Linked DNA regions of Homo sapiens: region 1 is linked to region 2. Evidence: promoter capture Hi-C in 16 types of primary human blood cells and fetal thymus (Javierre and others, 2016). All regions are on one chromosome and are shown on one strand. The core of a region is centred on a gene start or on the middle of the fragment in contact, and the rest is flanking DNA. Distances in the headings are between cores, read along the strand shown. Region 1 overlaps XPO7 (exportin 7). Region 2 holds the start of BMP1 (bone morphogenetic protein 1).

Region 1 (2,742 bases), core at 108-2,607, 240 kb before region 2:
TTTCCAGTTCGACTAATACCAGAATGCTTAGTGTGTGCAAGGCCCTTTCTGTGCTGGGCACTTCAGAGGATTCAGAATGAGAAAGACACTGGAGCCAGACTGCTGAAATATCCAATTCTGATGCTCTTTTGGCAGGCTTCAGGAGCACACACGTAGATACAAGAAAGAATACATTGATTTCAAAACATGCTACATCTGTGTTGGGTGATAAGCAATAACTATATCCCATCACCCACTCCCACCCTGATTATACCTCTTTCGTGGGTTTATACAAATAATATGTGTGTATTTTATTTCATTATTTTACTCCTATTCAACACCACACTGGAAATGTCTGTATTTAAAACATATATATCTATATATTTACTTGATTACTCTGACTTTAGTATATTTCCTGAGAAGCCTTGAGAAAAATTAAGGGATGTATATATACGTGTGGGATCATTCAAACACTTAACACAGAAAAAACAAAATACAGTACAGTGATGGAAGAATCTCTAATTTAGATGAAGGTATAGAAAGAAGTATCAGGAAGATCCCTGTTCTATATCTTACAGAGAAATTAGCTTCCATTTGACCCAGAAATTGATGTTCATAACCACCAGCTGTATTTTCTTTTTTCTTGGTTGGGTTTTGAAAGCAATATTGTACCACAGCCTTTCGAGGTGGGAAAGTTGCCAGTTTAAACCAATAAGCTAATGTCTCTCTGTAGGTACAACTACTGAGGCTACTTTGCCCACTTCAGTATGTGCAAGGAAGATAGTGTTTTGAAACTGCATCTTTTTAAAACACCTAACATTATCTCACATTTTCTCAGGGTTAGGAATCTGGGAGTGGCTTAACTAGATGGTTTTGGTTCAGGGTCTCATTTGCAGTCAAACTCTCAGCTGGGGCTCCGGGCTGCAGTCAATCTCAGGGCTTGACTTGAGGATAGAGAATTTTCTTTAGGTTTACACACAGCGGGCCTGGTCAGGCCTCAGTTCCTCACTGGCTGTTGTCTGGAGGCTGCAGTTCTTTACCAATGGGCCTCTCCTAGTGCATCATTTTTAAGGACTTCATTAAATTCTGTAATGATATATGCTGTGTATAAGTGACCCATCTTTGTTATTTTTTTCAAAAACTTTTTATTGAAATATATACCTGCAGACAGGTACAGAAATCATATGTGTTCAGCTTGATGAATTTTCACAAAGTGAATACTCCTTACTAACCAGCACCCAAATCAAGTCAGTATTATCGGTGCCCCAGAAGTCCCCTGATACCATCTCAACAGCTACCTGTAGCCCCCCTCCCCCCCCCACCCCACTAACTACTATCCTGTCATTTTATTTTTAAATCTGCTTTTAGAACTCAAGCTGAGTAACCTGAGAGTTTTAGCTTCAAAGCCAGGGGGAGAAGCAGTACAGAGCAGTGATTATACAGCTTTGGGGGGATTTATTTCATAATATGATGGAAGCTATGTTACTGCTCTCTGGTGGGGGTGGGGAGAGTGTGCCTACACAAAATTTTACCCACAATTTTAGGCCATTCATGAACCTTGATAACTAGAGTTTAAATATATGTTTCTTTTTAGATGAAAATGCTCACAACATTTTATTGAGAAACTGATTTACAAGTATTTCTCTTTTGACTTATTTGAAAAGCAAGTTCAGGACCACGATAAATGTTCCTGGAGAGTTACATGCAAGCTGAATTTTTAAATATTGAAATAAATTCTTGAGGATGATTAATGGTGACCACTTAAGCATCTACTAATATCCCATTTTTGTTACTGTGCAGACACATAGAAGGAAATACAAGATGTGATATTCTACTTCCAGGGCCTTACATTGAATTGAGCATCACAACAAGCCTGGTCATTGAGTTGTGAATTTGTAGTGAGACTGGTTTTGTCGACATGTCCCTGAATGGGGGGCAGTCACTACCCCGTTATCTTTTCCCCCATTCCAATACATGTCTGGAATACATTCATTCCTAACATTTATAGTGACTCATTACTAGGAAATTCTCAATGGAATGGGATTGGTACCCAGGAGGCATATCAAAATCTTGGGGGAGGGAGAGAGTTGTAAAAAACCTAGATCCTAAGTATTTCTGATATTTGCTTCAATGGCTGTTCACCCCTTCGCACATGTGTGCATGCACACAAGGACACACACACACTCCTACTGCCATAAAATGGGAAGGATGTATTTAAGAGAAGGCAGAATTGGAAACTTCATGCTAGCATTAATTGATATCATTTAATGCTCACCGCAGCAATGTAACATCGGTATAGAGATAATAGTAATAGAATTTTCCTTGAAATAAGCTGATTAAAAGACCTGGTATCCCTGGAAGACTGGAGAACTCGCTGTTGGAAGATTTAGATGATGTTCATGGTGGTGGTTATTGTAAGACTTACTGGAGTGTGACTTGGTTGGTCATAGGGAAAGGGGGATACCAGTATTAACTGAGTGTCTGTTATATGCCAGGCACCATGCTAAGCCTTTTATAGTGTTATGCCATTTAATTGGGAAACTCGTTTGGTCTCTGAGCCTGGATTAAGTGATCTGTGAAGTCCCTTGTACTTCAAGCATTCTGGATGGGATTTCCAGTTGTCATCCTTGTATTCTCTCCCCAATATAGCACCGTGTTCTCAATTCATATGTACATGTTTGTAAAATTCCTTAAAATATTTATGCTCAAACCAACATTTCCATTTTATCTATCTTAAATATATCTTCCTCTTCTTTACGCCTA
Region 2 (2,700 bases), core at 1-2,500:
GAGGAGCGCTCGCGCTGACCAGGCGCTGGGGCGTCCACTGAAGCGGGGTCATCCAGGCAACTCGGGGGAGGGGAAGCTCACAGACCGGTACTTCCCACTCCCCTGATTCTCTCTGTCCATCCTCAACATTCCTTTGCTTCACAGGGTCAGTGGAAGCCCCAACGGGAAAGGAAACGCCCCGGGCAAAGGGTCTTTTGCAGCTTTTGCAGACGGGCAAGAAGCTGCTTCTGCCCACACCGCAGGGACAAGCCCTGGAGAAATGGGAGCTTGGGGAGAGGATGGGAGTGGGCAGAGGTGGCGCCCAGGGGCCCGGGAACTCCTGCCACAACAGAATAAAGCAGCCTGATTGAAAAGCAAAGGGTCTGCTTCTGTCTTCCTGCAGGGCGCAGTCCTGCCCTGGCGGGGGCCGGCCAAGAAGGGAAGGGCCTTGGGAGAGCAAAGTGGGGTTTGCCATTCGCCCTCTGTCCCAGGGCGCTGGGGCACTGGGTCCACCTCGGCGGGGGAGAGGGGCTCGCAGGGAGCCATCCACGGGCTTTCGGCGCCCTCCAGCGGCGTCTCCGGAGGAGGGAGAGACACCAAGACAGCGAGAGAGACAGAGCGCAGAGAGCGAGACGCGAGAGAGCGAGGGTCCAAGAAGGGGAGATAGGGAGACGCGGGCGGAGAGACCGACCCGAGGCGGGGGCGCGGGGCAGGGGCGGCGCGAGGACCTGACAGCGTGTCCCGCGGCGGGGCGGGGGCTCGGCCGCGCGCCCGCGGGGGAGGCCGCCGCTAGAGGGCACTTCAGGAGGGACAGCCCTCCCGGCACCCCGGGGCCCGAGCTCCAGCCCCGGCCTCGCGGCCCGCGGCCCGCGGCCCGGGCGGCCCGAGCCCCCTCCCCGGGCGCGCGGCTCTCCGCCTTCCCCGCCCCGGCTGGCGCGCGGCCCGGCCCGGCCGAGCACTGTCCCGGCCCCGAGGGGGGCAGAGCTCGGGCGAAAACCCGCCCTCCAGCGAGCTCATTTCCCTAAAAAGGGGGGGGGGAGTCGGAGGGAGGGAGGGAGGGAGAGAAAGAAAGAGAGAAAAAGAAGGAAAGGGAGAGGGAGACGGCTGGAGCCCGAGGACGAGCGCGGAGCCGCGGACCGAGCGGGGGGCGGGAGACAGGAAGGAGGGAGGCGAGCAGAGGGAAGGGGAAGAGGTCGGGGAGCGAGGGCGGGAGCGGTCGCGGTCGCGATCGAGCAAGCAAGCGGGCGAGAGGACGCCCTCCCCTGGCCTCCAGTGCGCCGCTTCCCTCGCCGCCGCCCCGCCAGCATGCCCGGCGTGGCCCGCCTGCCGCTGCTGCTCGGGCTGCTGCTGCTCCCGCGTCCCGGCCGGCCGCTGGACTTGGCCGACTACACCTATGACCTGGCGGAGGAGGACGACTCGGAGCCCCTCAACTACAAAGACCCCTGCAAGGCGGGTGAGCGCCCCCCGGCCCCCCGGCGACGGGCCAGGCGGGGAGGCGCGGGCGGGTTCGGGCTTGGGGTTGGGGGAGGACAGTCCAGTGTGGGAAGCCGGGAGCTGCCTGGTTGGCAATGCAGTGGGGAACAAAAGAACGAGGGGGAGAGGGAGGGGGATTTGGGGGACTTTTCGGACTGAAGTTTTGCCGCTGTTGGTGGAAGCTGCTGCCGCTGCCTCTCATCTTCCCAGAGGATTCCAGAGGAAGTCTCCTTGCGTCCCGGGAAAACCGGCGGGCAAGGCGGCTTTTCCTTCTGTAGGAAACTTTTCTGGCCAAACTCCTGTGCGTGCGTGTGTGTGTGTGTGTGTGTGTGTGTGTGTGTGTGTGTGTGTGTTCTTTCCCCTTCTCCCCCATCTCTCCTGCTCCAGGAGCTGGGTGTTTTCCAGCCTGTCTGGGCTGCCCTGGGGCTGCACATCTGTCTGGCTTGGATCTGGGAGGCCTGAGTCTCCAAGGAGCAGGTCCCCCAGCCACCACCCAGCCCAAGTGGAAGAAGAAAGTTTTTCCAGGGATTCCCTGAGATCGTGCTCTCTGGGTATCCCGTAGTTTAACCAGTAGCTGAAGCTTTCTGGGACTTAGGAGACAGCTGTCAAAGTCAGAGAAGCCAACCCAGAAGGGGGACTTAACTTTGTCCCTATGTGCCCAGAGACCCCCGCCAAGGCCAAGTTGGGGTGGAAAGAGGGAAAATACAAAGAGAACCCAGATATTGTATATCAGCTCTGTCACCCCCGAGACACCAGAGGCTAATTAGCTGAGGTCAGGACCCCGGAGTGTGTGTTTGCCTGTATGTGTGTGTGTTCTTTGTCTCTGAAGACTCTATGTAACCCCATCACTCCTGCTGAGCCCAGAAGGGTCCTGCCCCTGGAGTGACCAGATGGCCAGGCACTCGGGCCATTTGCCTGATTGGATGACCCTGGGCAGGCTGTTTGGGGACACACAGGGACAAGATATCAGAACTTTTCCTTGACTTCCTGCCTCTCTGACTTCAGCTCATCTCCAAATAGCCAGAGCCAGGGGAAGTGGCATAGTTGCTAGAACTGGACTGCCTGTGTGGGGCACCAGGGGCGGAGGGGCAGGTTGCTCTAGTCCTGGCTCTGGAGACCCTGTTCAGGGACTCTCCTGGGAGGGTGGCCCACAGGCAGGAATAAGAGACCATCCAATGGAGGAAATCAGGGCAAATCCCTCAGCCCTTACCCCTCTACACCTGCTGGGCTGCGGGTAAACCAGGACAT

Evidence for each region. Contacts are between HindIII fragments. The CHiCAGO score rates a contact against its expected background, and 5 or more counts as called.
Region 1: a fragment that was not itself captured here is called in contact with the fragment with the promoter of BMP1 in region 2 in 2 of 17 cell types (naive CD4 T cells and fetal thymus); the score reaches 6.3 in naive CD4 T cells.

What each region holds. Positions count from the first base shown.
Region 1 is chr8:21,923,158-21,925,899 of GRCh38, forward strand. The region is part of intron 1 of XPO7 (exportin 7); the gene reads left to right. Among named protein-coding and RNA genes, the nearest start is that of XPO7, 4.9 kb to the left of the region's middle. The HindIII fragment of the contact is 4,070 bases long and covers 1-2,742 here.
Region 2 is chr8:22,164,122-22,166,821 of GRCh38, forward strand. It overlaps BMP1 (bone morphogenetic protein 1), which reads left to right and starts at 1,251. Exons shown (of 20, transcript NM_006129.5): 1 at 1,251-1,432. The coding sequence starts at 1,285. It overlaps SFTPC (surfactant protein C), which reads left to right. Exons shown (of 6, transcript NM_001317778.2): 6 at 145-358. RefSeq lists a silencer at 507-1,546. The HindIII fragment of the contact is 3,783 bases long and covers 1-2,030 here.